Linked DNA regions of Homo sapiens: regions 1, 2, 4, 5, 6 and 7 are each linked to region 3. Evidence: promoter capture Hi-C in 16 types of primary human blood cells and fetal thymus (Javierre and others, 2016). All regions are on one chromosome and are shown on one strand. The core of a region is centred on a gene start or on the middle of the fragment in contact, and the rest is flanking DNA. Distances in the headings are between cores, read along the strand shown. Region 1 holds the start of PLCD4 (phospholipase C delta 4). Region 2 overlaps TTLL4 (tubulin tyrosine ligase like 4). Region 3 holds the start of GPBAR1 (G protein-coupled bile acid receptor 1). Region 4 overlaps PLCD4 (phospholipase C delta 4). Region 5 overlaps STK36 (serine/threonine kinase 36). Region 6 overlaps STK36 (serine/threonine kinase 36). Region 7 overlaps ZNF142 (zinc finger protein 142).

What was found. Contacts are between HindIII fragments. The CHiCAGO score rates a contact against its expected background, and 5 or more counts as called.
Region 1: a contact is called between the fragment with the promoter of PLCD4 here and the fragment with the promoter of GPBAR1 in region 3, in 1 of 17 cell types (neutrophils). The highest score is 6.4, in neutrophils.
Region 2: a contact is called between a fragment that was not itself captured here and the fragment with the promoter of GPBAR1 in region 3, in 2 of 17 cell types (fetal thymus and neutrophils). The highest score is 5.3, in fetal thymus.
Region 4: a contact is called between a fragment that was not itself captured here and the fragment with the promoter of GPBAR1 in region 3, in 6 of 17 cell types (total B cells, non-activated CD4 T cells, naive B cells and 3 more). The highest score is 5.5, in total B cells.
Region 5: a contact is called between a fragment that was not itself captured here and the fragment with the promoter of GPBAR1 in region 3, in 3 of 17 cell types (total B cells, naive B cells and naive CD4 T cells). The highest score is 6.4, in total B cells.
Region 6: a contact is called between a fragment that was not itself captured here and the fragment with the promoter of GPBAR1 in region 3, in 1 of 17 cell types (total CD4 T cells). The highest score is 5.0, in total CD4 T cells.
Region 7: a contact is called between a fragment that was not itself captured here and the fragment with the promoter of GPBAR1 in region 3, in 4 of 17 cell types (fetal thymus, naive CD4 T cells, naive CD8 T cells and 1 more). The highest score is 6.3, in fetal thymus.

The regions. Positions count from the first base shown.
Region 1 is chr2:218,605,510-218,609,429 of GRCh38, forward strand. It overlaps PLCD4 (phospholipase C delta 4), which reads left to right and starts at 2,390. Exons shown (of 16, transcript NM_032726.4): 1 at 2,390-2,561. The HindIII fragment of the contact is 12,670 bases long and covers 1-2,880 here.
Region 2 is chr2:218,714,712-218,718,618 of GRCh38, forward strand. All of the region lies in intron 1 of TTLL4 (tubulin tyrosine ligase like 4), which reads left to right. Among named protein-coding and RNA genes, the nearest start is that of TTLL4, 5.8 kb to the left of the region's middle. The HindIII fragment of the contact is 4,797 bases long and covers 1-3,907 here.
Region 3 is chr2:218,258,891-218,262,980 of GRCh38, forward strand. It overlaps GPBAR1 (G protein-coupled bile acid receptor 1), which reads left to right and starts at 2,125. Exons shown (of 2, transcript NM_170699.3): 1 at 2,125-2,326; 2 at 3,790-4,090. The coding sequence starts at 3,835. RefSeq lists an enhancer at 2,572-3,377. The HindIII fragment of the contact is 11,967 bases long and covers 1-4,090 here.
Region 4 is chr2:218,634,410-218,638,498 of GRCh38, forward strand. PLCD4 (phospholipase C delta 4) reads left to right here. Exons shown (of 16, transcript NM_032726.4): 13 at 49-221; 14 at 1,387-1,522; 15 at 1,834-1,983; 16 at 2,062-2,766. The coding sequence ends at 2,168. It overlaps ZNF142 (zinc finger protein 142), which reads right to left. Exons shown (of 11, transcript NM_001379659.1): 11 at 1-4,089. The coding sequence ends at 3,930. Among named protein-coding and RNA genes, the nearest start is that of ZNF142, 23 kb to the right of the region's middle. The HindIII fragment of the contact is 965 bases long and covers 1,301-2,265 here.
Region 5 is chr2:218,673,494-218,677,642 of GRCh38, forward strand. STK36 (serine/threonine kinase 36) reads left to right here. Exons shown (of 27, transcript NM_015690.5): 3 at 132-272; 4 at 386-463; 5 at 1,850-1,980; 6 at 2,536-2,785. Among named protein-coding and RNA genes, the nearest start is that of STK36, 3.5 kb to the left of the region's middle. The HindIII fragment of the contact is 1,348 bases long and covers 657-2,004 here.
Region 6 is chr2:218,689,944-218,693,949 of GRCh38, forward strand. STK36 (serine/threonine kinase 36) reads left to right here. Exons shown (of 27, transcript NM_015690.5): 13 at 1-13; 14 at 507-612; 15 at 2,200-2,350; 16 at 2,640-2,767; 17 at 3,297-3,401; 18 at 3,780-3,878; 19 at 3,952-4,006. Among named protein-coding and RNA genes, the nearest start is that of TTLL4, 19 kb to the right of the region's middle. The HindIII fragment of the contact is 1,414 bases long and covers 1,442-2,855 here.
Region 7 is chr2:218,653,692-218,657,595 of GRCh38, forward strand. It overlaps ZNF142 (zinc finger protein 142), which reads right to left. Exons shown (of 11, transcript NM_001379659.1): 4 at 2,459-2,772. The coding sequence starts at 2,738. Among named protein-coding and RNA genes, the nearest start is that of ZNF142, 4.0 kb to the right of the region's middle. The HindIII fragment of the contact is 571 bases long and covers 1,691-2,261 here.

The DNA of each region.
Region 1 (3,920 bases), core at 1,140-3,639, 350 kb after region 3:
AGGAAGAAGGTCTAGGCAGGCCTGGGTGGCAGGGCGAGAGTACCATGTTTAGGTCTTCCTCTTTGCCAGCTGCTGCTTCATTTCAGTTTAGGGCTTCTAGGCTTTTCCTGGGCATGGTTCCCAGAAAGTCCCTCTGCTGCTACTGCCCTGATCAGGTTTCTGGATCTGTTAATAATAGACAACAGTGGGGGAAGGGGCAGCCAGGATCATGGTGGAAATAGGAATAACCATACCAGATGGACATTTACTGTGCCCAGGGGGCCCTGTCTGTCTGCTCCCTCCCTCTGTTTCATGAGAGTCCTGCAGTGGGCATGCCTTGGCACTCTGGAACCATACTAACCTTGTGAAAGTCTCCAAGTCCCTGCCCCAAAAATCAGAACATATGGGCTGAAGAATACTGTTGTATTCATGGGAACATTGAAACAGAATATTTGAGATCTAGACTCTCCCAGAAAATCCACTATGAGTGATAACACCCCTCACAGATTACCCAAGAGGGAAGGAGGTTGGGCAGCATTAAATTGATGCAAATAGTGACTCAGAAAGATGGTATATAATCTGGGGGTATAGAAGAGGAGTGTGGACTGTGAAGGTGAGGCTTGGAAAAATAAGCTGGCCATGTTGGGGAAGTAGAAATGGGAGAGCAAGACAAGCATGTAAAACAGGGCCTCTATTAAGTCAAATCTGAAATCAGCACAGTTTAAACTACGATGCCCCCCAATCTTCCTGTTCCCCATGAATGGCCTCCCTCCTAATGTGTCCCCTTCCTTCATACTACTACTCTTCTATCAAAACCTGCTCTCAGTAAAGAATATAGACAACCCAACCTAGGTATAAATTATTTAAAATCTACTTTGACCTTAGGATTGAATTTTTAAAAAATTATTTATAATCGGCTGGGTGCAGTGGCTTACGCCTGTAATCCTAGCACTTTGGGAGGCCAAGGCAGGTGGATTGCCTGAGCTCAGGAGCTCAAGACCAGCCTGGGCAACACGGTGAAACCCCGTCTCTACTAAAATACAAAAAAAAGTAGCTGGGGGTGGTGGCATGCACCTGTAATCCCAGCTACTCAGGAGGCTGAGACAGGAGAATTGCTTGAACCCGGGAGGTAGAGGTTGCAGTAAGCCAAGATCACGCCATTGCACTCCAGCCTGGGCAACAGCGAGACTCTTATCTCAAAAAAAAAAAAAAAAAAAAAAAAAAATATATATATATATATATATACACACACACACATATACATATACATATATGTATATTTAAAATCATTAAGCCTTCAAAAGTTAACACAGATATATGATATTTTAAATGAGACCTAAAAAAATAAATTTAAAAACACATATAGAAAATATATCAAGAGAATGTATAGCTTAATAAATTATTAAGTGAAGACCCTTGTTAGCACTTAGAACTAGAAATAGAGTTTAGCTAGCTATGCCAGAAGCCCCCTCTGTGTCCCATCTCACCACAATTCCTCCCCCTCCCAACAGTAACCACTATCCTGACTTTTATAGTAATCACTTAGGAGGATTTTATTTTAATGGGACTAAAAAATGTAGCTATAATCACTAATGGTAAAATATTAGGCAGTTGAGGGATGCTTGTGGAAACCATGATAGGCAGCCAGACGTCAGCACACTTAAAATTACACCATTTCACACAGTTCCCCTCTGAGCCTATGCTTCATCTCTGCACACATCTTTATAAACATGCATGTATGTCCTGAAGGTGCTACCTCCATTCTGAGGGCTATGACTTATAACCCAGAGGTGCTGAACAGATGCTTGTAGGAGGAACGAATGGATGTTTAAAAAAAAATGAGCTGTTTCACACGTTCATCTATGCATTCTTTCAATATTTAATGAGTGCCTAAAATATACATAGATTCTAACCTATCTGTCCCTCTACATTCTATCATCATTCCTGTCCTCCCCTTCTCCTCGTCTTCCTCTTTTCCCATCTTATTTCTTTCTTTTCCTGTGGGACGGAGCTACAGTGAGTGCCCTGCAGGCAGGATTCAGAGATACAGGAGCAGGCCAGTGGAAACAGACACTATGGAAAGGAGCCAGATTAAATAAGGGCAAAAACAGCCGTATTACATGCAGGAACCAGAATGAAAAGCAGTGATTCACAGAGCACTGCAACTGAGGACACTCCCTTCACTTTGAGAGCTACTGCGGGATTGGGGTCAATGAGGGCTGGCATCAAGATGAAGGGCAGCCAGGCTCCTCCCTGGAGATGTGCTGCCCTTAATCCTTCTCTCCCCACCCCACCCCCACTACTCCCTCACATTGACCAGTGTCCTGGGCCTTTAAGAGTTGGATGGGCTGGACTGGAGAGAGCTCACACCTCTCCCCTTCTTACTGCTTCCCTCCGGCTATAACTTGCCAGTCACAGCAGCCAGCTGCTGTAGAAGAGGGGAGGAAACAAGCCAGTGCAAGGGGAGCAAAAGAGAAAAGGAGCCAGGCTGGGCTTCCTGATCCCACAGCATCGCAGAGCTCGGGAGGCACAGCTCACAGACACAGGAAACACAGGACTGCTATTCTGCTCTCCTGCCCACGGTAAGGATCTGGAAGCTCTGACTACCCTCTGCTCTAAGCTCTGTCTTCCCTGAGTCCCTACCTCTGCCCTCTAGATGCTTATCCACCCTGATTAAATTGTACCCTAGACTCCTTTCCTCATCCCAACAGCTCTACAGGGCTCCCACCTCCTGGTTCTCTCTAGCTTATCCTCCTTTATCCTTACAGCTTTCCTCCTGGCTGTGTCAGTCGCCCTTTATATGAGGTACCTCTTAGCTTATGCAGGGCCAGAAGTGCCAACCCTAGCCACTCCTGAGGTGAACTCCACCCCCAATAAGGGAAGAAAAAATTGGAGTAGCTAAGCTTTAGCATAGATTCATTAACAGTTTGTTGAGGGTTGCAAAATAGGGGTTGGCCAAGAACCATGGGGAATCAGAGATCCCTGGTAATAGAGAGAGTTATGAAAGTCCCTTAGAAAGTTCTCTAAAGAACTTGTTCTTTGCCTATTCCATGGGCCAGAGCAGTTTCTTAGTGCACCAGAGTGCTACGTTGGTAAGAAAACCTACTTCTAGTTCTGCCTGTGCCATTAACTAGCTACGGGACCTGGAGCCACAACTTCCAGATCTGTGATACGAGAGAGTTTAGGGTTTCCCAGACTTGCCTGTGTACCAAGTGTACTTGTTAAAAATAAATATATTATTGAGCCCCACCCTGGGTAACTCTGATCTGGTAGATTTTTGGGTAGGGCTAAGGATCTCAATTTCAAGACATTCCAGAGGCTATTGATGTAGCTGGGAATGTCTGGATTAGATGTGTTATAAAAGAACTGGCCGGGCGCGGTGGCTCACACCTGTAATCCCAGCACTTTGGGAGGCCGAGGCGGGTGGATCACGAGGTCAGGAGATTGAGACCATCCTGGCTAACATGGTGAAACCCCGTCTCTACTGAAAATACAAAAAATTAGCCGGGCGAGGTGGGTGGCGGGTGCCTGTAGTCCCAGCTACTCGGGAGGCTGAGGCAGGAGAATAGCGTGAACCCCGGGGGGCGGAGCCTGCAGTGAGCCAAGATCGCACCACTGCACTCCAGCCTGGGCGACAGCGAGACTCTGTCTCAAAAAAAAAAAAAAAAAGAACCTTCAAGCTCCAACATTCTGTGACCTGTGACCAGAGCCAATTTGTCCTCTATATGAACCAGGTTAGGCATAATCCTTCTCAGAAGCAAGGGAGTAGACAAAATGATTCTCTTCTTTCTTGCCCCTCAGAGAGACCTGAGACACCCTGAATCCCACTGTAATCTCCTTGGTGCCATTGGTAACTCTGCCAAAGTCCATCTCTAGGTGACATGAAGTCTCTTAGAAATTGAGGACCAAATTGCGCTCTGCAGCTCTGGGCTACTTCCCAT
Region 2 (3,907 bases), core at 930-3,429, 460 kb after region 3:
CTTTGGAATCTTCAGTTAAAAAAAAAGGGATATATATATATATATTTCAATATTCAATTTTTTCTTTTTAAATTTTGTTTAGAGATGGGGTCTCACTATATTGCCCAGGCTGGTCTCGAACTCCTGGACTCAAACAGTCCTCCCGCCTCAACCTCCCAAAGTGCTTACAGGCTTGAGCCACTGCGCTTAGCCTATATTTTAATATTATATTAGGAACTGAAATATTCATTTAGAAGTAATAAGCCCATTACTAACATGAATAACATTTTTACGTATGTTACAATTTACATTAACTGTATGCTAACGTAAGTTAGTTAACACAAACAGCATTTCTAACCTAAGTTATGGTTAGCATAAGTTCACTTAATGTTTTCATTTAAAAAATGCTACTGTTTTAAAAATATTAGTGAGAAGAGTGGCATTGTTTTTTAGATCTCTTTAGTGTCTGACTTAATAGAAGACAGCTGGATTTTCATATGTTTCTCCAGTCTATTGTGATAGTTGTTTTGATTGAATAATGAAAATCCAGCTGCACACAGATGGCTGGAAAAGGATGAAGTATTTCAGTAGTCTTCTCAGATAGTTGTGGGTATTGGTACTATGCAAAACAAAGCATGATTTTGTAAAGGCTAGTTACAGTGTGGAATCTGAAATGATATCAGTGAACATTTCATACTTTGTTATGTTAAAATCCATGGATCTGTCTCACTTTGACTGGGTCTTAGATCCATACATGATTCTGTAACATGTGATACAGTCATGCTACACAGTCATGGTATAGCCTATTGCTCCTAGGCTGCAAACCTGAACAGCATGTCACCATAATGAGTATTCTCTGCAGTTGCAACACAGTTGCAACACAATGCATCTAAACATTGAAGCATAGAAAAGGCTACTGTAAAAATAAGGAATGATAATCTTTTTTTTTTTCTTTCTTTAGAGGGAGTCTCAATCTGTCGCTAGGCTGGAGTGCAGTGGCGCAATCTCGGCTCACTGCAACCTCCACCTTCCTCGTTCACGCCATTCTCCTGCCTCAGCCTCCCAAGTAGCTGGGACTACAGGCACCCGCCACCACGCCTGGCTAATTTTTTTGTATTTTTAGTAGAGATGGGGTTTCACCATGTTAGCCAGGATGGTTTCGATCTCCTGACCTCGTGATCCACCTGCCTCGGCCTCCCAAAGTGCTGGGATTACAGGCGTGAGCCACCACACCCGGCCTGGAATGATAATCTTATGGGACATTGTCTTCTATGGGGACTATCTGTTGACTGAAACATTATGTGAGGCATGACTGTTAGGAAAATACTGGTTCACTGAGTTATGCAGATCTCCCACGTGTCACAGTTTATTGTATAGTGTCAAAAAAATCATATCACCACAATCTCTTCAGAGAAGTAGTTAAATATTGGGAAGCACTCAAACTCGTGGTGGCAGATACCATTTTGCCAAAATTCTAATTTTCTTTGGGAAGCTCAAATTTTATCATTGGCAACAAGTACAGTCAGTTGGTTTCCTTGAAGTGACAGGCTTACTTTGTTTCATTTTCCAGAACCTTTGCCAAATAATGACGTCGGAATAACTATTACTTATGTGTCATTCATTCTTTCAAGTAAACATGGCGTTCCACAGAAAAATCCTGCAATTCAGACAATCACACAAGTGCTTTAGAGATAATCAACATGTTCTGCATGCAGCATAAATGTTTTATATGTACTTCACATTTTATCACACAGAATATTAAAAAGCATACTCAAGGACACTTTTTAATGAGATTTAATATAATTTACACTGTGTCGGGCTGGGCGCAGTGGCTCACGCCTGTAATCCCAGCACTTTGGGAGGCCGAGGCGGGCAGATCACAAGGTCAGGAGATCGAGGCCATCCTGGCTAACACGGTGAAACCCTGTCTCTACTAAAAATACAAAAAATTAGCCGGGCGTGGTAGTAAGTGCCTGTAGTCCCAGCTACTCAGGAGGTTGAGGCAGGAGAATGGCGTGAACCCAGGAGGCGGAGGTTGCAGTGAGCCGAGATCGTGCCACTGCACTCCAGCCTGGCGACAGAGCGAGACTCTGTCTCAAAAAGAAAAAAAAAATTTACACTGTGCCATCAAGTAAACCTGGTTGTATTCTTTCACTGTGTGGTGGAAAAGTATAGTGGGTAAGAATCTAATTTCGTGCCATCGTCTTGATTCATGCTAAGTCACCAGCAGTTTTACTCATTATTGCTTTTGCTCTATCAGTGGAAAGGTCAGCACAGTAAAAAGGCAAATAACATCTTAGGTTTTTTTCTTTTTCTTTTTTTTTGTCCGAAGACAGGCTGGAGTGCAGTGGCATGATCATGGCTTACTGCAGTCTCCACCCCCCAGGCTCAGGTGATCCTCCTACCACAGGCATGCACCACCACATCTAGCTGATTTTTTGTATTTTTTTTTTGTAGAGACAAGGTTTCACCATGTTGCCCATGCTGGTCTTGAACTCTGGAGCCCAAGTAATTTGCCCACCTTAGCCTCCCAAAGTGTTGGGATTATAGGCACAAGTCACCCCACCCAGCTACCTCTTAGTTTTGTTATGAAAATATTTTCTATGTAGCAGGACCGCCAAAAGGATCTTAGGGTCCCCTCAGGGTCTGTGGACCATGCTTTGAGAACTGCTGCTCCAGAGCCCACCTGAGAAGGAGGAAAGAGCCTCCTTCCCGAAGCTGATAAAGGGCAAGGCTTCAGGAGAGTGAGTCACCCCATTACATAAACCCTTCCACTGGTTTCACTTTTCAGTAATTTATAGGTTTACCTCCCTCAGCTCCAGCTGCCATAACCTGTATCTTTTCCTCAGGTTTGCTTACTTGTTTGGCATTGCTAAACTGTGCTCTACAAGAGCTACCTGTAATTTCACTAATCTTGACTTATACGGACCCACCCTTCTCACTAGGCTGTATTCTTGACCTTCCTCTCTTAGTAGGGCTTTAGGAGAGATATATTGCTCCTCCACCTTTCCTTAGGGAGAGAGAGCTTGGGATTTATCTCATAAGAGAAAATTAATGTGATTCCTACACTCCTCTCTATTTGGTTCCAGGCAAGTCAGTTCTATCTTCTTCTTTTTTTTTTTTTTGGAGACAGAGTCTTGCTCTGTCACCCAGGCTGGAGTGCAGTGGCACAGTCTCGGCTCACTGCAAGCTCCGCCTCCCGGGTTCAGGCCATTCTCCTGCCTCAGCCTCCCAAGTAGCTGGGACTGCAGGCGTCTGCCACCACGCCTTTTGTATTTTTAGTAGAGATGGGGTTTCACCGTGTTAACCAGGATGGTTTTGATCTCCTGACCTCGTGATCCACCTGCCTCAGCCTCCCAAAGTGTTGGGATTACAGGCGTGAGCCTGTCAGTTCTATCTTCTAACATAACTGTTGAGCAGTTGAGGTAATCTCATCAGAGATCTTGTGGACTGTAGACTGAACCATTTCTGATGTCCTGAGTTTCCCTGGTGACCGAGGGAAACACCTAGTTGAAGGAGGAAAGGGAAACTGCATTTCCCAAGAGCCACACTCTCTTGTAGGAGAGTGATTTAATTAGTGGGTAATGAATAATTGCTTTCTCTAGAAATAGATACCTTGTCCAAGTTGGTCTGGGCCTGGTCCCTGGAGACTTGTTGGTTTGCGACAGCAGCAATAGATTTTCTTTTCTTTTTTTTTTTTCTTTTGAGACGCAGTTTCACTCTTGTTGCCCAGGCTGGAGTGCAATGGCGCAATCTCGGCTCACCGCAACCTCTGCCTCCCAGGTTCAAGCGATTCTCCTGCCTCCACCTCCCAAGTAGCTGGGATTACAGGCATGCACCACCATGCCTGGCTAGTTTTGTATTTTTAGTAGAAATGGGGTTTCTCCATGTTGCTCAGGCTGGTTTCGAACTCTCGACCTCAGGTGAT
Region 3 (4,090 bases), core at 875-3,374:
GTCCAGCAAACCCCGTCCCTGCTGCCTCCATTGGTCCAGAGCTGGTACCCGCAGCCAGCATGACACTCACCCAGTCCCAGACATTGTGGGTCAACAGAGAGAAATTCAGATAGCTAAGAGAATGGAAGCGGACAAAGGAGGCACAGGAGGATTCCATGCCAGAGTCTGAATTGGTCACCCCCATTCAGGCTCTGCCTGAGGAAAGGAGAATGGGGTCCGGGCACAGTCAGCTGGATGGAGCGTCTGAAGACGGCTTGCACCAGAGCCCTCCGTGGCTGAAGGGAGAAGCTAGGGGGTGAGTCAGCCCCAGGGCTTGATGGAACAGACAGGAACTAGATGATCTAGGAAGGGAGAAATGAGGCTGAGCAGGAGACAGCCCAGGCTCCCTGGCTGCCACTACCTAATCTGTCCCCCTTCACACACATCCCACACACAGTGTTTAGACAGAGCAGCAGAGAAGAAACAGACATCCTGGATCCCACAGGGAGCAGGCTGGGGCTGGGAACAGGAGGTCTGTTTATTCCTGGAAGTCACATATCAGAAGGGTCCCACACCCACTTCTGTCCAGGCCCCAGGCTGAACTCTCCCAGAGCCTGTGACTTCTGCCCGACCAGATCCCGTGGTTCTGAGGACCGGCCCTGGAACCCTGCGTCCTTCCGACCCACCAGCTCCCTCGAGGATGGACTTGAGGCTGGATGCTTTCCTCTTCCCACTTTTTGTCCCAACAGAAGTCCCTGATCTCCAGGATCCCTGACTGGCTGTGCAGAGCTGGCACAGCCACACTCCACGGGCTTCCAGCCCTTCAGGCCCAGCTCTCCCGGAGAGCACCAGAGTCCCTTTGCTCCATTTACTTGCGCTCTTCAGCCAGCAAGTGTTTCCTAATGTCTCACCCCCAGTCCCAGCTTTCCTGCTGCAATTTCCGCCTGTTCCCTCCCATTTCAGGCCTTAAGGGAGTGTGGCTGGGCTTCTCTCCTCCCCCTCACTCCAAAGCCGCACTTGATACAAGGTGGAAATCAAAGCACCACTTCTGGCTTCCCAGCCTTGAACTTGCCCTTCCCTCTCAATGTATCTGGTTTCCTCAGCTTCCCTGTGCAGCAAGAGTGTCACTCCCCTCTTGCTTTTCCCAAGCTCCCCATGCGCCCCTCTCAGCAGATCTGTCTTAGAGGGGCCAGGTGCAGAGAAAGGCAGAAATCCTAATAATGTTCCCAGCGATCGCTGCCTGTCGCGGAGTGCTGAAGGGCCAAGTGTTGATCTGAGTCCTCATCACACGGGACTTCATTTAGTCTCACGATAGGTGAGTACAACTATGGGCCCCATTTGACAGATGAGGAAACTAAGGCAAGGGAACTTTAGTCATTTGCCCAAGTTCACTGGCTTTTTTAAAAAAGGATCCAGACAGCTCTGATTCCAGCGCCAGCTCATGCCTCTTCATCATGGGGGAGGAAAGAGAGGGAGCCATTTGTTGGGGCAAACCCCCACCCATCAAGGGCCATGCACTGGGGTATATGCCGCCATATGTGTTATCCTGTGATATTCCCCACCACGACCTTAATTAGAGGTGGTTTTTCTTGTTCCCATTTTAACACAGGCAAAAACCGAGGCCCAGTAGTACCTTACCCATGGTCACATCCCCAGAGCCATTTGTCCCTCATAGTTCAGAACTTGACTCAGAAAGCAGTTGAGAAAAGTGTGGAATGACCCCAGATTCAGGAAGGCAAGTCTGGCCTTAGAAACTGAAAGGCCCATCAGGTGATGGGATGGGGGAGTGAAGATCCTCAGGCCCCAAACACCTGCCACTGCCACCATCACACACGGAAGTGTGGAGGGAGCCTGGTGTGCTGTCAGCTGGCTGGCCAGTCCAGGGGCTTAAATGTAAATGCATCAGCTGAGGCGGGAAGTCGGGAGGGGTAAGTCAATCATTATTATTCATTAACTGGAATGCATTTCTCAGATTACTCCGAGCTGGAGTAGGGAAACTGCCACCTAGGTGGCAGGGGGAGAGGGGAACTGGGTGGGAGGGGGAGGCAGGCCTCCCAGTTGCTGCAGTTTGGAATATGTCAGGTCCCACCCTCCCAGAGGCGGGGCCAGGGCTGAGTCCTGCCAGCCTCATTTCTCTATCCCTCTGAGAACCCAGACGGGCAGAGCCTGGGTAGGAGAGCCTGGCCCCGCTGTCCCCACTGGGTGGAGACACCATGCACTTGGTCCACTTGTGCTCTTCAGCCAGGACACCAGACATGGTCCAAACCGCTGCAGGGCTGGCTGCAGCAACTCCCTGACACTCAGGAAGGCCCAGGCTGGGCAGGCAATACCTGCTCCCAACAGCCATGTGAGTAGCTACTCCCCCAAACCCCCAAACCCCAGATCCTGGAGAGGCTACTACACCCAGCCCAAGCCACCAGACCCTCGGGGGTGTGCAGGTGGTACAGCCTGCACCCTGCTGGGAAATCACCCCTGGGGGCTGCTCCCTGCCTTTGTCGCTGTTCTAGTGGAGGTGGGTTGGGGGGAATCATTCCGATTAGGGCTGGGAGCTCCAGCTCAGGCCAGGTTTGGGGTAATGGACCCTGAGTCTCACGGGACTTAAGAGAGTTGATGATGCCCTGGGAAAGGGAACAGAAACTGCAAGGCCTCTAGAGAGGAAAAGACATCCTGGGTGGAGGGCACTGGAAGAGATTGAGAAAGAGAAAACATGCTTAGGGGAGGGGAAAGGGGGCATAAGGCCTTGGAGGCCCAGGCTCAGGGTGCTGGGGGAACCTGGGAAGGAAGGGGAGCATCTTCCTTCCTCTCAGCTCAGGGCAGCCATGGGGCCCTGATCCCCTGTCCTGGAGGAGGGGAGAGGTATGAATCCTTTCCTTATTGACTTGGATCCTAGCAACAGCAGCTGCTCCCCTGTTGACAGAAGCAGGAGTTCCCACAGGACCCAGGACCCCTCCCCCTGTCCCCAGGATGTGGCAGCAGAGCCATGACACTGGAGGACTGAGACCAGGGAATGACGGGAAGGACAGGGACAGATGAGAGCCACAGAGAAGCCAGACTCTGCCCAGACTCCTCTTCCCTCTCCTCTGGGCTCAGCCTCAGGCCTGGGGGTGTGGGGGAGTCCCTCTCCTTGCTGCTGGCATCTCCACGTTCACTGCCACACGTGCCCTCCAGCTGCTTCTCTCCTCCCTCCAGCTCCCAGGAAGGACCCTGTTGCTAGTGTGGAGCAAAGACGAGTCAAGTTTATGGGCTGGAAGTCCTACCCGGAGGCTGCTCACTGAGCTGTGATGGCTACAAGGACAGATGGGGGGAAGGGTGCAGGGTGCCCGAGACCTGGCCCGCTGGAGCCTGTCACCTAATGGCTGGCTGGAAGACCACTACACACCAGCCAGCCCTGGTCCATTCTCTCATTTAGAGGCCTCCCCGGTGGAGGCAGGGATACACAAAATGCTTTGGGGCTGGATGGGCCCGCCTTTCAGTCTAAACAAGAGACCTCAACACAGCTGCCCAGAAAAGGCAGATACCAGAAATGGATAAAGCTGGCTGGGTGGGGACTGTCCGAAGGGCAGCCAGCAGTGAGCTCCGGCTGGTTGCTACCACACAGGACATATGTGTTGCCAGACCTGAATTTTCAATAGAAACCAAAGATAGTTTTTTATATAAATGTTTAATTGGCAATTAATTGAAAAATTCTGTGTATCAGCGAACATGATACAGCCCACAGCCTGCGGGTCTGCGCCCCTGGATTAACATGCTGCCCTGCCAGGAGGACACGACCTGCAGCCCCATCCTAACTCTGGCCACCCCATCCTGCAGGCATGCCGGCTGCCGCTCCAGGACTCCCCTGTCCCCAGGACCAAGATGACGCCCAACAGCACTGGCGAGGTGCCCAGCCCCATTCCCAAGGGGGCTTTGGGGCTCTCCCTGGCCCTGGCAAGCCTCATCATCACCGCGAACCTGCTCCTAGCCCTGGGCATCGCCTGGGACCGCCGCCTGCGCAGCCCACCTGCTGGCTGCTTCTTCCTGAGCCTACTGCTGGCTGGGCTGCTCACGGGTCTGGCATTGCCCACATTGCCAGGGCTGTGGAACCAGAGTCGCCGGGGTTACTGGTCCTGCC
Region 4 (4,089 bases), core at 533-3,032, 380 kb after region 3:
AAGGCCTCCATGGTGAATCTTGCTCTTCTTTTCTCCTGGGGCCCTCAGTGGCCATGAATATGCAGACTGCAGGGCTTGAAATGGACATCTGTGATGGGCATTTCCGCCAGAATGGCGGCTGTGGCTATGTGCTGAAGCCAGACTTCCTGCGTGATATCCAGAGTTCTTTCCACCCTGAGAAGCCCATCAGCCCTTTCAAAGCCCAGACTCTCTTAATCCAGGTACAGTGGAAATAAACTGTTGGGAAGAAACTGAGATAACTGGGATAGAAGTGAGGGAAGAGGTGGCTAGGCCTGACCGGAATGTAGAGGCCGGATAGCCTATTAACAGTGTCTAGTTTTAGCTTTTGGAGCCAGCTGCCTAGCTTCAAACCACAACTTCCTAATTGGGTAATGTTGGGCAAGTTCCTTAACCTCTCCATACCTCAGTCTGCTCACCTGCAAAATAGGGGTAACACTACCACCTGCCTCACAGGGTTATAAGGAGTATAACAGTTAATATAAAGTTCTTACAATTCCTGGCACACAGGAAGTGCTATAAAAGAGGCTGGCTGGGAGCGATAGCTTACACCTGTAATCCCAGCGCTTTGGAGGCCAAGGCAGGAGGACTGCTTGAGCCCAGGAGTTTGAGACCAGTCTGAAACTGGTCTCAACAAAAAATTTAAAAATTTTGTAGAGACTCCCGTCTCTACAAAAAATTTAAAAATTAGCCTGGCATGGTGGCACATGACTATAGATAGTCCTGGCTACTCAGGAGGCTAAGGCTGGAGGGTCACTTTAGCCCAGGAGATGGAGGTTGCAGTGAGCTATGACTGCCCCACTGCATTCCAGCTTGGTCAAGAGTATGATCGTGTCTCTTTGAAAAAAAAAAAGTGGCTGCTGTCATTAGCATGCCTACTTTCAAACTGTTGAATTTCTACCTGGATCCATTTAATTTATTTGTTTATTCTGAGACAGAGTCTTGCTCTGCTGCAGGCTGGAGTGCAGTGGCATGATCTTGGCTCACTGCAACCTCCGCCTCCTGGGTTCAAGTGATTCTCCCATCTGAGCCTTCCGAGTAGCTGGGACTACAGGCGCCCGCCACCATGCCTGGCTAATTTTTGTATTTTTAGTAGAGATAGGGTTTCACCATGTTGGCCAGGCTGGTCTCCTGGTTTCAAGTGATCTGCCCACCTCGGCCTCCTGAAGTGTTGGGATTACAGGTGTGAGCCACCGTGCCCGGCCTTTGGGTGCATTTTAAATTGCAGATAGAATACTAGAAGAAAATATATTACCCATGGAGGATGTTTTACAAACCAAAAAGCTTCTTCTCCCCTGGGGTTGGGAGTAGGGTCGGGTGGGGCTGGGCTGAGCAGGAACTTGTGAGATTCCAGAGCCCTGACTACAGGTGATCAGCGGTCAGCAACTCCCCAAAGTGGACAAGACCAAAGAGGGGTCCATTGTGGATCCACTGGTGAAAGTGCAGATCTTTGGCGTTCGTCTAGACACAGCACGGCAGGAGACCAACTATGTGGAGAACAATGGTGAGAAACTGGCAGTGCTGGGGAGGTGGGGGTAGGAGCATGATTAGTTTTCCTTCTAGTCTGTCTTCCATTAAGTATAGCATCTGTTATTGCATGTCCCCACATGGGAGGCAGTGTGGAACAGTACAAAGAATCCTGGCTCTTCACTTAAAAGCTCCAGTGACCTGGGCAAATTACTTGCTTACTCTGAGCCTTTTTCCTTACCTGTAAAATGCTGATTGCCATCTAGATTAAATGAGAACACAAGAAAAGCAACCCAGTCAAGAAAACTGTCATAATGTCTTCTTATTTCTTTCTGTCCACCAACTCAGGTTTTAATCCATACTGGGGGCAGACACTATGTTTCCGGGTGCTGGTGCCTGAACTTGCCATGCTGCGTTTTGTGGTAATGGATTATGACTGGAAATCCCGAAATGACTTTATTGGTCAGTACACCCTGCCTTGGACCTGCATGCAACAAGGTGAGCCAGCCCCTTTGGCCCCTGGCCAATACCCCAGCTCTGGCTGCCTTCCTAATGCTGTCCTCCTGCCCCTTCCAGGTTACCGCCACATTCACCTGCTGTCCAAAGATGGCATCAGCCTCCGCCCAGCTTCCATCTTTGTGTATATCTGCATCCAGGAAGGCCTGGAGGGGGATGAGTCCTGAGGTGGGCATTTCACGGGAAGGGTTGGTGTGCTGGCTTTAGACGGGGAGAAACATCTGGAAGGATGCTCGAGAGAACAAATGGAGGTGGTGAAAATCAAGCTTTGGATTGTGCATTCCTAGGCACAAAATTACCTCATTCTTCCTAACAAGCAATCTGGGACCTGATTTTCCACCTTTTTTCTCTTTTCTTCCCTTCCTTTGTTTTCATAAGCCTTTGGTATCTTTCCTGCCCTTTTCCTTTGTGTACTCTATACTGGAGTTCCCTTCTTCCTCTTGCTGTAGGCTCAATCCCATACCGACATCTACAACTAATCTTTCCCATCAACTCTGTGTGAAGGCAGGTTGCAACTAGAAATTCAGAGGGGCTTGGAATAGAGAAACCTAAAGAAGCATCATCCCCTCCATCCCCAACTTCCTCAAAGCCCAAAGCCAAGGGAAGGATAAATCAAGGCTCAAGGCTTCCCCAGCAAAGATTAGGGAAAGAGACTTGACCCCAGGACTGTACTACGACTCTTAAGAGAACACTGCACAGCACTCAAAGTCCCCCACTGGACTGCTTCCTCCTTAGCCCCACTGGTATAAATACATCTCTCTCCAATTTGGCTTCAATATGGTCTGTCATTGTTGGGCAAGAAGGGGAGGTACAAGGGTTGTGGGGACATCTGGGTAGTCAGGTGAGACAAGGAAAAGGTAGAGAAAGAGGTTCCCAGGAGACCTCTTGCATGTGCTACATAGGAAGGACACAGAGTATGGCTTTTAAGAATCAGGGCAAAAGCAGACAAAAGGTTATGTGGTCCCAGCCTTCCTGAAGAGTCTGGCTGGAACCATCCTGGTTTATGTCTGTTGTCCCAGCATAATTATTAATAGTACCCTCTTTAAGTTTTCCCAGTGTGTCTCAGTTTAGATGATCAATTATATAGTAAGGCACTACAGAATTATACTGTGAAGCAGTTATAGAATTCTGAATTGGAGATTTTCCTCTCTAGTCATCTGCCTTTCCATAGTATCCTTGTGCTTTAACACCTTAGTGTAGCTGCTGAGCCAGTCTGAGGATTGATGATGAGCTAAAGTTGCTTCTAGGAGGAGGCTTAGTGGGTAGCAATCCTCCCTCTATAGATACAGGTAGACAAAGGAGCTTGGAAGTAGGGAGCAGGTCAAGGGTCAAGATGGCTCAAGGACAGGGAGAAGGCAGACCTAGGCCTGTTTCAGTATCAATACTGAGTGAAGATGGAAGGGACAAAAGGGAGGCAGAGGTCTGAGAGGGGACAGAGTTGATCAAGATGACAGCCTGGAAATGTTAAGACAGGGATTTGGATGAATCTATAATGTAGTAACCACTTTCTGTTTAACATGCTTTATAGAGCATTAGGCACAACAGCACATGCGGTTAGATACAACTGTTTTTAGAAGATTCTGAAAGAAAATAGGAATTGACACAGTAAGAAGGAAAGAGAAGATGGAGTGGGTAAAATCCAGATCTTATAGCCAGGGACTTTGATGGAGTGATGGTGAAGAAACTGAGAACTTGCAGGTTAAAAACGCAATGTACAGCAATAAGAAATCAACGTTATAGTCCATGTCCCTCTTTTATATGGGTGATAATTTCAAAGTACTATAGCCAGAGTCCCAGGAAGGTTCTAGTCACCCTTGTACCCCAAAAGCCAGTCTTTCCTTAGGCTCTGAGCTCCTCAGGCTAGCGCTGGTCCCAGTCTGCACATCTCAGACCATACCCTCTTCCTATACAGGAGGTGGGGCAGGCTTTCAGCCCTCAGGTCCAGTGTGGGGAGCGGCAGGAGCAGGAGGGCTGGGATCCTCCAGCTGCACATCATGCAGGTGCACTGTGGGGGTGGTGGGGTCTTTGCCCACACCCTGGTTTGGGTCGGCTTGGTCAGGGTGGTGCCTGCGTACGTGCTTGACCACC
Region 5 (4,149 bases), core at 81-2,580, 410 kb after region 3:
GACTAACAGAAATAATAAGAGTTACTCAAACACTCTAAAATCTGACTTCTGGAGCTCTGAGATTAAGGCTGAAATTCTAGATCTTTTCAGTAGTGTGATTAGGCGTTAACTTTTCACCTTACCACTGACAGGTCGTGGCCCTGAAGTTCATCCCAAAATTGGGGCGCTCAGAGAAGGAGCTGAGGAATTTGCAACGAGAGATTGAAATAATGCGGGGTCTGCGGCATCCCAACATTGTGCATATGCTTGACAGCTTTGAAACTGATAAAGAGGTGTGCTTTGACAGTTTTGGGCCCTGTCTCCCCAAGCACAAGGGTTCCAGGAATTTCCCAACCTCAGAATGCATGAATCTGGAGCCATCAGTGCCACTGCCTTCTCTCTGTAGGTGGTGGTGGTGACAGACTATGCTGAGGGAGAGCTCTTTCAGATCCTAGAAGATGACGGAAAACTTCCTGAAGACCAGGTATGCTTTCTGCCTTCAACTTCTCCCCACCTCCGACCTCTCTCCAGGTTAGAGAACTGGTAGAGCAAGCTAAGGACACTGAGAGTCTCCATTTCAAAGACTTCTGAGAAGAATATAAGAGTCTAGGTATATAGAGGCAGTGTAGTGTGGGAGTAAATTATGTAAACGTTGGAGTCAAAATATCTGAGCAGGAAGCTTGGCTCTGCTCCTTCCTAGCTGGGTCTCATTGGACAAGTTACTTTAATTTCTTTGTGCTTAGTTTCCTAATTTGTAAAATGGAGATAATAATCATGTTTGCCTGATAAGTCTATGATGAAGAGTGTTAAGTCATGTAATGTGTTTGAATAGTTAGCTATTATTAACATTATTGTTATTAGATACCTTTAGGGAAGAAGGGCCAGTGTAATGGTACCAGAAAGAGGGCAGTAAGAATAAAGGTTGTGGGGAGTCAGGATTTGGCACCAGGACGTAGTGGTTAGCAGTGGGATTTTGTTGCACATATCCTCCAGCCACATTTATTCTAGGCGTTTGTCTGTACCCAAGCAAGTAGGCCCCCCCTGGGATTCATTATTGCAGCATTCTCTTTCCTTCTGAGCACTCACCACTATTTGTAAGTAATCATATTTTTGAAATTATTTTATTTTTAATTGAATTTTATTTTTTGAGACAGAGTCTCGCTTTGTTGCCCAGGCTGGAGTGCAGTGGCACAATCTTGGCTCACAGCAAACTCCGCCTTCCAGGTTCAAGCAATTCTCGTGCCTCAGCCTCCCCAGTAACCAGGATTATAGCATGCGCCACCATGCCTAGCTAATTTTGTACTTTTAGTAGAGATGGGGTTTCACCATGCTGGCCAGGCTGGTCTCGAACTGCTGGCCTCAGGTGATCTGCCCGCCTCAGCCTCCCAAAGTGCTGGTATTACAGGTGTGAGCCACCACGCCCGACCACCATATTTGTTTTATCTGTCTTGTTTGTTTGTCTGACTACTTTTCTTGAAAAAAGGCATTTTGTCTTATTTAATAACAGGTAATGTGTATTGAATATTTACTATGTGCCAGGCACCATTCTGAGTATTATTTTGCATGCTTTAACTCAGTCCTCACAATAATCCTCCATGTAGATGGTGTTATTATATAGATTGTCACCTTAGTTTGCCCATGGTCAAGCAGATAGTAAATGAGATTCAATAAATTTTTCTTGAATGAATGAATGAGCAAATGAAAGAGTGATTAAACAAGGGGAACAATAACTAAGAAAGAATAGTGTGAAGCTCTGCAAGAAAGGGAAGGAAGAAAAGATTAGCAGTAATATTAAGAGAAATTTTTGGGCTTGTCAGCCAGCTGCTGTTTCTAACCTTTTTTTTCTTTCTTCCACCTCTTTAATTTCTAGGTTCAGGCCATTGCTGCCCAGTTGGTGTCAGCCCTGTACTATCTGCATTCCCACCGCATCCTACACCGAGATATGAAGCCTCAGAACATCCTCCTCGCCAAGGGTGGTGGCATCAAGCTCTGTGACTTTGGGTAAAGATTCTGAGCATCCATCTAAGCTTCCAGTTCCACACGGAATCTTTTTTTTTTTTTTTTTTTTTGAGATGGAGTTTCACTCTTGTTACCCAGGCTGAAGTGCAATGGTGCGATCTCCACTCACCACAACCTCTGCCTCCCGGATTCAAGCAATTCTACTGCCTCAGCCTCCAGAGTAGCTGGGATTACAGGCATGTGCCACCATGCCTGGCTAATTTTATATTTTTAGTAGAGATGGGGTTTCTCCATGTTGGTCAGGCTGGTCTCGAACTCCTGACCTCAGGTGATCTGCCCACCTCGGCCTCCCAAAGTGCTGGGATTACAGGCATGAGCCACTGAGCCTGGCCCCACAGGGAATCTTAGACCATACTCTTGACTTATTTGGGCCTCATTTTAGAACCGGAGCTAGAGGCTGGGACTGCTGCTGGGTCTTCTGGAACCTAATCAAAGGTGCTCCCTCTGCTCCGGTTTGGGATATCTCTATGTTAGGTAGTAGTGACCAGGTTTAGAATATCTTTTCCCTTTCCATTTCCATCCCATTATCTTCTGCAGATTTGCCCGGGCTATGAGCACCAATACAATGGTGCTGACATCCATCAAAGGCACACCACTCTATATGTCTCCAGAGCTGGTGGAGGAGCGACCATACGACCACACAGCGGACCTCTGGTCTGTTGGCTGCATACTATATGAACTGGCAGTAGGCACCCCTCCCTTCTATGCTACAAGCATCTTTCAGCTGGTCAGCCTCATTCTCAAGGACCCTGTGCGCTGGCCCTCAACCATCAGTCCCTGCTTTAAGGTAATGAATATTGAAAGGGAGATGACTTTTACATTAGAAATCTGTCTCCCTCTATCTCTGTTCCTTTTTCCAAATCCTTTTCCAGAGCTGAGGCGGGACTTTGCAGTTACTGAATTAATGGCTGTGTTATTCTGTTCTCGCATTGCTATACAGAACCACCTGAGACTGGGTATTTTATAAAGAAAAGAGGTTTAATTGGCTCACAGCTCCATAGCCTGTACAGGAAGGATGGCTGGGGAAGCCTCAGGAAACTTACAATCATGACGGAAAGCAAAGGGGAAACAGGCATGTCTTACGTGGTGGACCAGGAGGAAGATAGAGAAAGGAAAGGTGCTACACGCTTTTTTTTTTTTTTTGAGACACAGTTTTTTTTTCTTTTTTTTTTTTTGAGACAGAGTCTCGCTCTGTCACCCAGGCTGGAGTGTAGTGGCGTGATCTTGGCTCACTGCAAGCTCTGCCTTGCAGGTTCACACCATTCTCCTGCCTCAGCCTCCTGAGTAGCTGGGATTACAGGTGCCCACCACGACACCCGGCTAATTTTTTTGTATTTTTTAGTAGAGACGGGGTTTCACCGTGTTAGCCAGCATGGTCTTGATCTCCTGACCTCGTGACTCGCCTGCCTCAGCCTCCCAAAGTGCTGGGATTACAGGCATGAGCCACTGCTCCCAGCCTGAGACAGAGTTTTGCTTTTGTTGTCCAGGCTGGACTGCAATGGCGCGATCTCGGCTGACCGCAACCTCTGCTTCCCAGGTTCAAGCAATTCTTCTGCCTCAGCCTCCCGAGTAGCTGGGATTACAGGCATGCACCACCATGCCTGGCTAATTTTGTATTTTTAGTAGAGATGAGGTTTCTCCATGTTGGTCAGGCTGGTCTCGAACTCCCAACCTCAGGTGATCCGCCTGCCTTGGCCTCCCAAAGTGCTGGGATCATAGGCTTGAGCCACTGCACCCGGCCAGGGCTACACACTTTTAAACAGCCAGATCTCGTGAAAATTCATTCACTATCATGAGAACAGCAAGGGGGAAGTCCTCCCCCATGATCCAGTCACCTCCTACCAGACCCCTCCTCCAACATTGGGTATTACAATTCGACATGAGATTTGGACGGGGACACAAATCCAAACCATATCAATGCCAGAGCTGGGCCAGGCAGCCTTGCTTTTCTACTGCAGGGTCTTAATTCTGGGAGGGTGTTCTAAAGTTTGCCAAACCTGAGAATGGTAACTCCAGTTTGAGCCAGGCTATGCTTTATCACAATGAAAAGGTAATTGGAAGATACTAGAGATCGATACTGGTCCTCTTACATGCCATCTATTCCACTTACTTCCTGTCAGATGCTATGTCCACATTCTAGATGTTATCTAC
Region 6 (4,006 bases), core at 899-3,398, 430 kb after region 3:
AGACAAGTGACAGGTAGGATAAGAAGTGCTTTTGCATTGTTGGCAAGTTTGGCTTCTGTTTCTACCCCAAGTGCCCTTCCCATTTAGGAACAGGCCAAGTATGAAGAAGCTGTGATTTGTTACAGGTTTAGGAATCAGCTGAGTGGCCACTCATAGTCCTTTTAAGGACCCTAAGACAGCTCCAACTTGGCCTCAAGACTTACAGTTTCTAAGAGTCAGCAGTCACCATGGTCCTAAAATGGAAGGGTCAAGATGTGAATAACCTATTCCAGGAAGCCAATTGGATTAAAGAAAGAAAGAAAGAAAAAAAATATGCGAATAACCTAGAGAAAATGGCAAAGAAGGGGCTTGGAGGGTGTATGTGTGTGTGTGGCAAGGGAGAAGGGAGGAACATTCTGATGTGTCCCTTTGCAGAGATTCTCCTACCTGCCCAGGACTGACCCATTCACCACATCCAGGCTTTTAGTAGAGAGATAAGAAATCATGGGCTCATTTTCCACCCCCAGCCTGCAGGTGTTTCAGGAGGCTGCCAACCTTTTTCTGGACCTGTTGGGGAAACTGCTGGCCCAACCAGATGACTCTGAGCAGACTTTGCGGAGGGACAGCCTTATGGTAATCTGCTCCCACTTCCAGATTTCTGTGTCTCCTATCATTCTCCGTGTTTCTCCCATCCCCTTTCTTATGACTATGTAGGGTCAGATCAAGTTAATATGACAAACATTTGTTAAATTCCCACCATGCCATATGCCATGTGAGTAAGAAAAAGTGCCTGCCTTCAAGGGACTAGGGATAATTTAATAGGGGAGAGGTAAAGGGATTAAGGACAACAGTGAAAAGTACATTAGAACTTTGCATATAATACAAGAGCACTGCTGTATTTTATGAAGAAGATGCAGTTAACCACTGCAGAAGATGCACTTAACACTATTTGGAGTATCATAGAAGAAATCTCGAAGAAGGAAATCATCTCTGCTAGCATTTGAAGAATACATCGCAGTTTGCCACGTAAATGAGGCACAAAGTAGAAATTCTATACAGAAAGAGTAACATATATAAAGGCCCAGAGGCTTTAAGCAGTTTGGCATATTTCAGGGGACCACAAATAGAACGACTTCTTCTTGAAAAGACTTGCAGATCATCTAGTATTGTCTAACCTCGTTTGTCCTGAGGATTAGTAGACTATGCAGTTCTTTTCCCTAGATCCTGGAGGTAAGGGACAGGAGAATGGAGGATTGAATGAGAAAATAGCTGTGTTCTGACTAACCTCAGAGGAGATAGAGAGGAACATATATTTGTAAGGAAGTAAATAATTGCCTGGTCATTGTTAAAACTGGTAATTGGGAACATAGATCTGGACTACTACTTGCCTTTAGCTAGCATTCACTCAGACTTTCCTGGTCTGAGATCCTGTTTTAATATCCCTCACCCTTTCAAGTCAGAAAGCTTTTACTGTCTAACCTAAATTTTGGCCAGCAGTGACTCATGCTATTGGCCAGCACTTCTCATGTCATATGCTATGAATAGAATGGGGAGTTTGGAATAATTACCTCCTGAAATTCTGAATCAGTAGGACTGAGTTGGGAGGGACCCAGGAATCCCTAGGATTTCTTCTTTTCTTTCCTTTTTTTTTTGGAGACAGGGTCTCTCTGTCACCCAGGCTAGAGTGCAGTGGCATGATCTTGACTCACTGCAACCTCCACCCTCCGGGCTCAAGCAATCCTCCCATCTCGGCCTCTTGAGTAGCTGAGACTATGGGTGCACACCACCAGACCTGGCTATTTTTTTTGGATTTTTAGTAGAGACAGGGTTTTGCCATGTTGCCCAGGTTGGTCTCAAACTTCTGAGCTCAAGTGATCCACCTGCCTCGGCCTCCCAATCCCCTGTTGGGATTACAGGCATGAGCCATTGCACCTGACCCCTAGGAATTCTTATACTCACAGTCTATAAAAAATACTTTGAGAAACATCATCTAGGGAGCATCTGATCAGAGAATAGAAGGATTGACACCTAAAATTATTGTCCTTGAAGCATGAATGAAAGCAGTTCTAATGCATTTTTGGTGTGAAGAATGCTTAAAATTAGACATGTGTTTGCTTTGGTTTTTGTCCTCTTTCCTCAGATCCTCAGGGTTTTCTTGTTTTTTACACTAAGCCCAGTCTTCTGATGCCCTGATGCTACCTCTGCACTTCTCTCCTTTAGTGCTTTACTGTCCTGTGCGAAGCCATGGATGGGAACAGCCGGGCCATCTCCAAAGCCTTTTACTCCAGCTTGCTGACGACACAGCAGGTTGTCTTGGATGGGCTCCTTCATGGCTTGACAGTTCCACAGCTCCCTGTCCACACTCCCCAAGGTAACCAGAGTGGAGAAGGGAGGTTCTCTTGACTTACTTGTTGCATAGGTCAGGCTCCGCTCTTTCTATTGCCATCACCTAGATCGCACCTGGCATTTAGTAGGTGCTCAATAAATAACTGTGAACTGAGAGAATGAATGGGGATCTGAGGGAAACAAACAGACCTCATCCTGCATTCTTCCCACTCCCTTAGGTTCCCTACTCCTGCTGCCATGTCGGTGAGTACTGGTGCTATTGTCTAGGGCAAGAGCCTCAGGCCTTTGGAGTTACTCTTTGCTTTTCTCCACAGGAGCCCCGCAAGTGAGCCAGCCACTGCGAGAGCAGAGTGAGGATATACCTGGAGCCATTTCCTCTGCCCTGGCAGCCATATGCACTGCTCCTGTGGGACTGCCCGACTGCTGGGATGCCAAGGAGCAGGTCCGAGCTACAATTGGTTGTTCCTCTCATCCTACTGCCAGAGGAATTGAGGAGGCTAGCCCCAGTTTTTCAGAAAGGCAGAAAAACAAGCTTTTAAGCCCCTCCTTTAGTACTTCCAGAAACAGATGCTCCCACCCTGGGCCATTTGTAGAACATGATATAGCCAGAATCCCAGAGCCCATGGCCAGTTGGTGAGGGAGAGAGCACAGTGATAAACTGCCCAGATGGTGGGGCAGCTGATCTGAAGCCTCCAGTGATGCTTCCTCAAGGGCTGAGAATTCAGCTTTCCTGATCCCTGTTGGTCGGTAATCCTTTCCTCTGTACCTGGCTACACTGGGGCCAAACTAGGCCATGACTTTTGGTTCTCTATTGGTGATGAAGACTGGGAATAGAATGGGGTCTGAGGTTTCTGGTGAATGTGGGAAGAGTGACTAGGAAGAGACTGAGAGTCCTGATCATTTTGGACATATGTGAGGAATAGGGTTGTAATCATGTGGATAGGATTGAGCCTTCAGGTATGTCTCTATAGGTCTGTTGGCATTTGGCAAATCAGCTAACTGAAGACAGCAGCCAGCTCAGGCCATCCCTCATCTCTGGCCTGCAGCATCCCATCCTGTGCCTGCACCTTCTCAAGGTAATCCTCTTAACTCCTGGCATCACAGCTTTATTTTTAACTCCCAGTGCAGACAGAGAAGCAGAGAAACAGACCAAGAGAGGAGGACTAAAAGAGAGAGAGACTGAGAGAGACCATTTGAGACACCCCCTTGGAAGACTCCTTTCTGCTTTTAAATCTGTTCAACTGAGAGGACCCCACTGTTAGCCAGTCCTCAGCGGAACCGAGAAGGGTCCCTGTCTCACTATCTCATAGCAAGAGGCAGAAGGGGGTTCTCTCACACTCCCAAGTGTGGGTACCAGATCTTTTGAGGGGCTGGCCGGTGTTTCCGCTGAGCCTTCAATCTTGGAGCCCGGGGCCTGCCCTGCCTCACTGCCAGACTCCTTCCTTCTCCCTCAGGTTCTATACTCCTGCTGCCTTGTCAGTGAGGGCCTGTGCCGTCTTCTGGGGCAGGAGCCCCTGGCCTTGGAATCCCTGTTTATGTTGATTCAGGGCAAGGTAAGCCAGCTTCCCCTGGCAGCCCCACTGTCTCAGCCAGAGGTTGTTCTGATATCTTAGGTTTCCTTTGTAGGTAAAAGTAGTAGATTGGGAAGAGTCTACTGAAGTGACACTCTACTTCCTCTCCC
Region 7 (3,904 bases), core at 726-3,225, 390 kb after region 3:
CTTTCCACTTGCTATATATCAAAGATATTTTTATCTTTGAGTACATTTACATCTAGTTTGTACTTTCTTATCCAGTTCATGTTTTTTCCAGAGCATGAACAAATCAAAACGAAATTCTGCCCTTGCTTCCCTGGGGACCAAAAAAATAAAAATAATTTTTTTGGCTGGTGGTGGGGGAAACAAGGTCTCTCTCTGTCACCCAGGCTGCAGTGCAGTGGTGGTGTGATCACAGCTCACTGCAGCCTTGACCTGCTGGGCTCAAGTGATTCTCCCACCTCAGCCTCCTGAGTAGGTGGGACTACAGGCATCACCATTCCTGGCTAATTTTAAATTTTTTTGTAGAGATGGGGTCTCCCTATGTTGCCCATTCTAAAAATAATTTTAAAAAATAAATTGTGCCGTTACTGATGGACATTTGGGCTGTTTCCAACCATTACAAATAAAGCACCCCTATATATCCTCATCCTTGCTCTGGCCACTGTAATTCCGGTGTCTTTGTGCATTCCTACAGTGGAATTAGTGGTCAGAGTATGCAAATTGTAAAATTTGCTATGTAGCTAAATTGACCTTCAAAAGATTATACTAATTTGTATCTCCATAAGCTGTAACATAGTGTTTCCTATAGCCTCATCAACACTAGGTATTATTAAAAATGTTTAATTTATGCCAAAATGCATCTCCTTTTTTTTTTTTGAGACAGAATCTCGCTTTGTTGTCCAGGCTAGGGTTCAGTGGTGCGATCTTGGCTCACTGCAACCTCCGCCTCTCGGGTTCAAGCAATTCTCCTGCCTCAGCCTCCTGAGTAGCTGGGATTACAGGTGCCCACCACCATGCCAGCTGATTTTTTGTATCTTAGCAGAGGTGGGGTTTCACCATCTTGCCCAGGCTGGTCTCAAACTCCTGAGCTCAGGCAACTGCCTGTCTCGGCCTCCCAAAGTGCTAGGATTATAGGCATGAGCCACCATGCCCAGCCACATCTCTTATTTTTAACTGGAATTTATTTCTTTGCTAGTGAGATTAAGCATCCTTCCATATGGTTACTACTTTTATTTCTTCTTTAGAGCATTGCACATAGATTTCTTTTTCCCATTTAAAAAAAAAAAAAGGTTTCTGCTGGGTGCGATGGCTCATGTCTGTAATCCCAAAACTTTAGGAGGCCGAGGTGGGAAGATTGCTTGAGCCCAGGAGTTCAAGACTAGCCTGGGCAACAAGGTGAGACCTCGTTTCTACCAAAGAAAATTTAAAAACTAGCTGAGTGTGGGTGGTATACACCTGTGGCCCCAGCTACATGGGAAGCTGAGGCAAGAGGATTGCTTAAGCCCAGGAGGTCAAGGCTGCAGTGAGCCGTAACTGTGCCACTGCACTCTAGCCTGGGTGGCAGAGCAAGACCCTGTCTCAACAAAACCCCCAAAACCAAAAGAAAACAAAAAAAGCAAAGCAAACAACAAAAAAGATGGTTTCTTTTTCTTACTGTGGCTCTTTGAATTTTAAAGATATTAACTCTTTCTTACATATTGCGAATGTTTTTCCTAGGCTTTTTATTTTTTTAAATTTCTTTCACCATATGGAAGTTTGGAAATATTATATGGTCAAATTAGCTAATCTTTCCCAATATTCTTTGTCACTATACTACAGTGCCAACTGAAGTGGTGACAACTATGGCTGGAGGACGGTAATTAAAAAACAGGGAAGCTTCCTAAAAATAAGAGGTGAGGATAATGGGATGAATAAAGGGAGAATCTTTCATCTGAGATAAATACAAATGCTCAACTCCTACTTTTTTGTTTTGTTTTGTTTTTTTAAAGAGATGGGGGTCTCACTATATTGCCCAGGCTGGAGTGCAGTGGCTATTCACAGGTATGATCATAACATACGGCAGCCTCTAACTCCTGGGCTCAAGCAATCTTCCTGCCTCAGCCTCCCAAGTAGCTGAGACTACAGGTGCATGCCACTGTACCAGGCCTCAACTCTTATTCTTAACAACATGCCTCGGATGAGTAAAGTATGTTATACACAAAAAACTAGGGCAGGGAAATACCAGATCACTTCTGGAAAGCCCTGCCAAGCCCAGGGTGGTAGAGACAGGGTTTTTGCTTAATCCCTGGCTGCAGTTCCTGGGTAGGAGGGTCAATATGGAGGAAAGAATCTCCAAGGACTGTAAGAGTAGGGACAAGCCAGGATTGGGCGGAGGTGTCAGAAAGGTCTTACTTTCTGGATTACTGCCTAGCACACATGAAGCCCTTGCAGGACAGACTGCCAAAAGCTTGGTAGAAGGCTGTGCACCACTTCGCCAGCCTTCAATCAACATGCACCAACTGCAAACCAAATGACAACATCTCCAAGTATAAAAATAGGATGCTACCTTGTGTTCTCATCATATTTATACAGAATCAAAAATAACCCAGACAAAACCTCAGAGCTGCTTGTCCCACTGGCCTGCTTGCAACTGTGTTTGTACCTGGGGTCTCTCCAGGAGCACCTGGGGTCAGGGTTCCAGCTACTGTCTCCACAATGATCTCCATGTTCCCTGGTCCCTCTTCAGTTGCTGTGGCCTCTACCAGCAGGCAGCCTGGCTCAGTAGGTATAGGTGCAGGGTCCCGGGAAGGACAGGGGCTCTGGACAGGCCCCAGGATTCCACGGTTAGAGAGAGGCGGGGGGATCAGCAATAGCTCAGGGCACAGTCCATCCATCTCCCCGGTGCTACTGGCTGGCTGTGAGTCCAAAAGGGGGTCTGTCATCACCACCGACTTGTGTGTTTTGGCTTCTTAAATGCTGACAAGCCAACCAGAAGAAAAACAAAGTAAGGTTAGAGTTCTTACTTTCTTCCTGGCTGGCGTGGGTACACAGCCCAGTGCCCACCCACTTAGGCATTTTCTTGCATGGCAATATGCCATATATACCATATGAGACTAAATAGAGGCTTTCTTTTATGATAATGTTCAGAACAAAAAGTATAAAAATGATAACAGAATATTAGGAGACAGCCAACAAGTATTGGCCAATATATTAATGACTGCAGGTTGTCTTCTGCTAGCTAAGTGCCCTTAGCCAAGTCATTAAGCAATTTGGGTCTCAGATTTCTTATCTGCAACAAAATTAGGTGGGGCCCAAATATCTCAGAAGTCCTTTTTTTTTTTTTTTTTTGAGACAGAGTCTCGCTCTGTCACCCAGGCTGGAGTGCAGTGGCGTGATCTTGGCTCACTGCAACCTCCGCCTCCTGGGTTCAAGCAATTCTCCTGTCTCAGCCTCCCCAATAGCTGGACTACAGGCATGTGCCACACACGCCCAGGTAAATTTTGTATTTTTAACAGCGATGGAGTTTCACCATGTTGGCCAGGCTGGTCTCGAACTTCTGACCTTGGGTGATCTGCCCGTTTTGGCCTCCCAAAGTGCTGGGATTATAGGCGTGAGCCACCTTGCCTGGTCCCTTTCCCTCTTAACCTTTGATAATCTCACTATTCCTCAGCATGGATTATAAGGAAGGCCCTTCCTTCATCATCTGGCTCCTGCTGACCTCCCCTGACTCATCTCCCACTTCTCCCCTCAGCAGATCTCTGAACCAGATGATGTGCCATTCTCCAGACCCACCACATTCTCTTTTGCTTTCATACCCTCACAGCCTTTTGCGTCTCTTGGCTTGATATGCCTTTTCCCCTTCTCAATCTCTCTCTCTTATCTGGCTAACCAATTAACTATCCTTGAAGAAGCTGCACAAATGTCACTTCCACCATGAAGGCCTCCTGACATTCTTTTTTTTGAGACAGTCTTAGTCTGTCACCTAGGCTGGAGGGCAGTGGCACGATCTCAGCTCACTACAACCTCTGCCTCCTGGGTTCAAGCGATTCTCCTGCCTCAGCCTCCTGAGTAGCTGGGATTACAGGCATGTACCACCACGCCTGGCTAC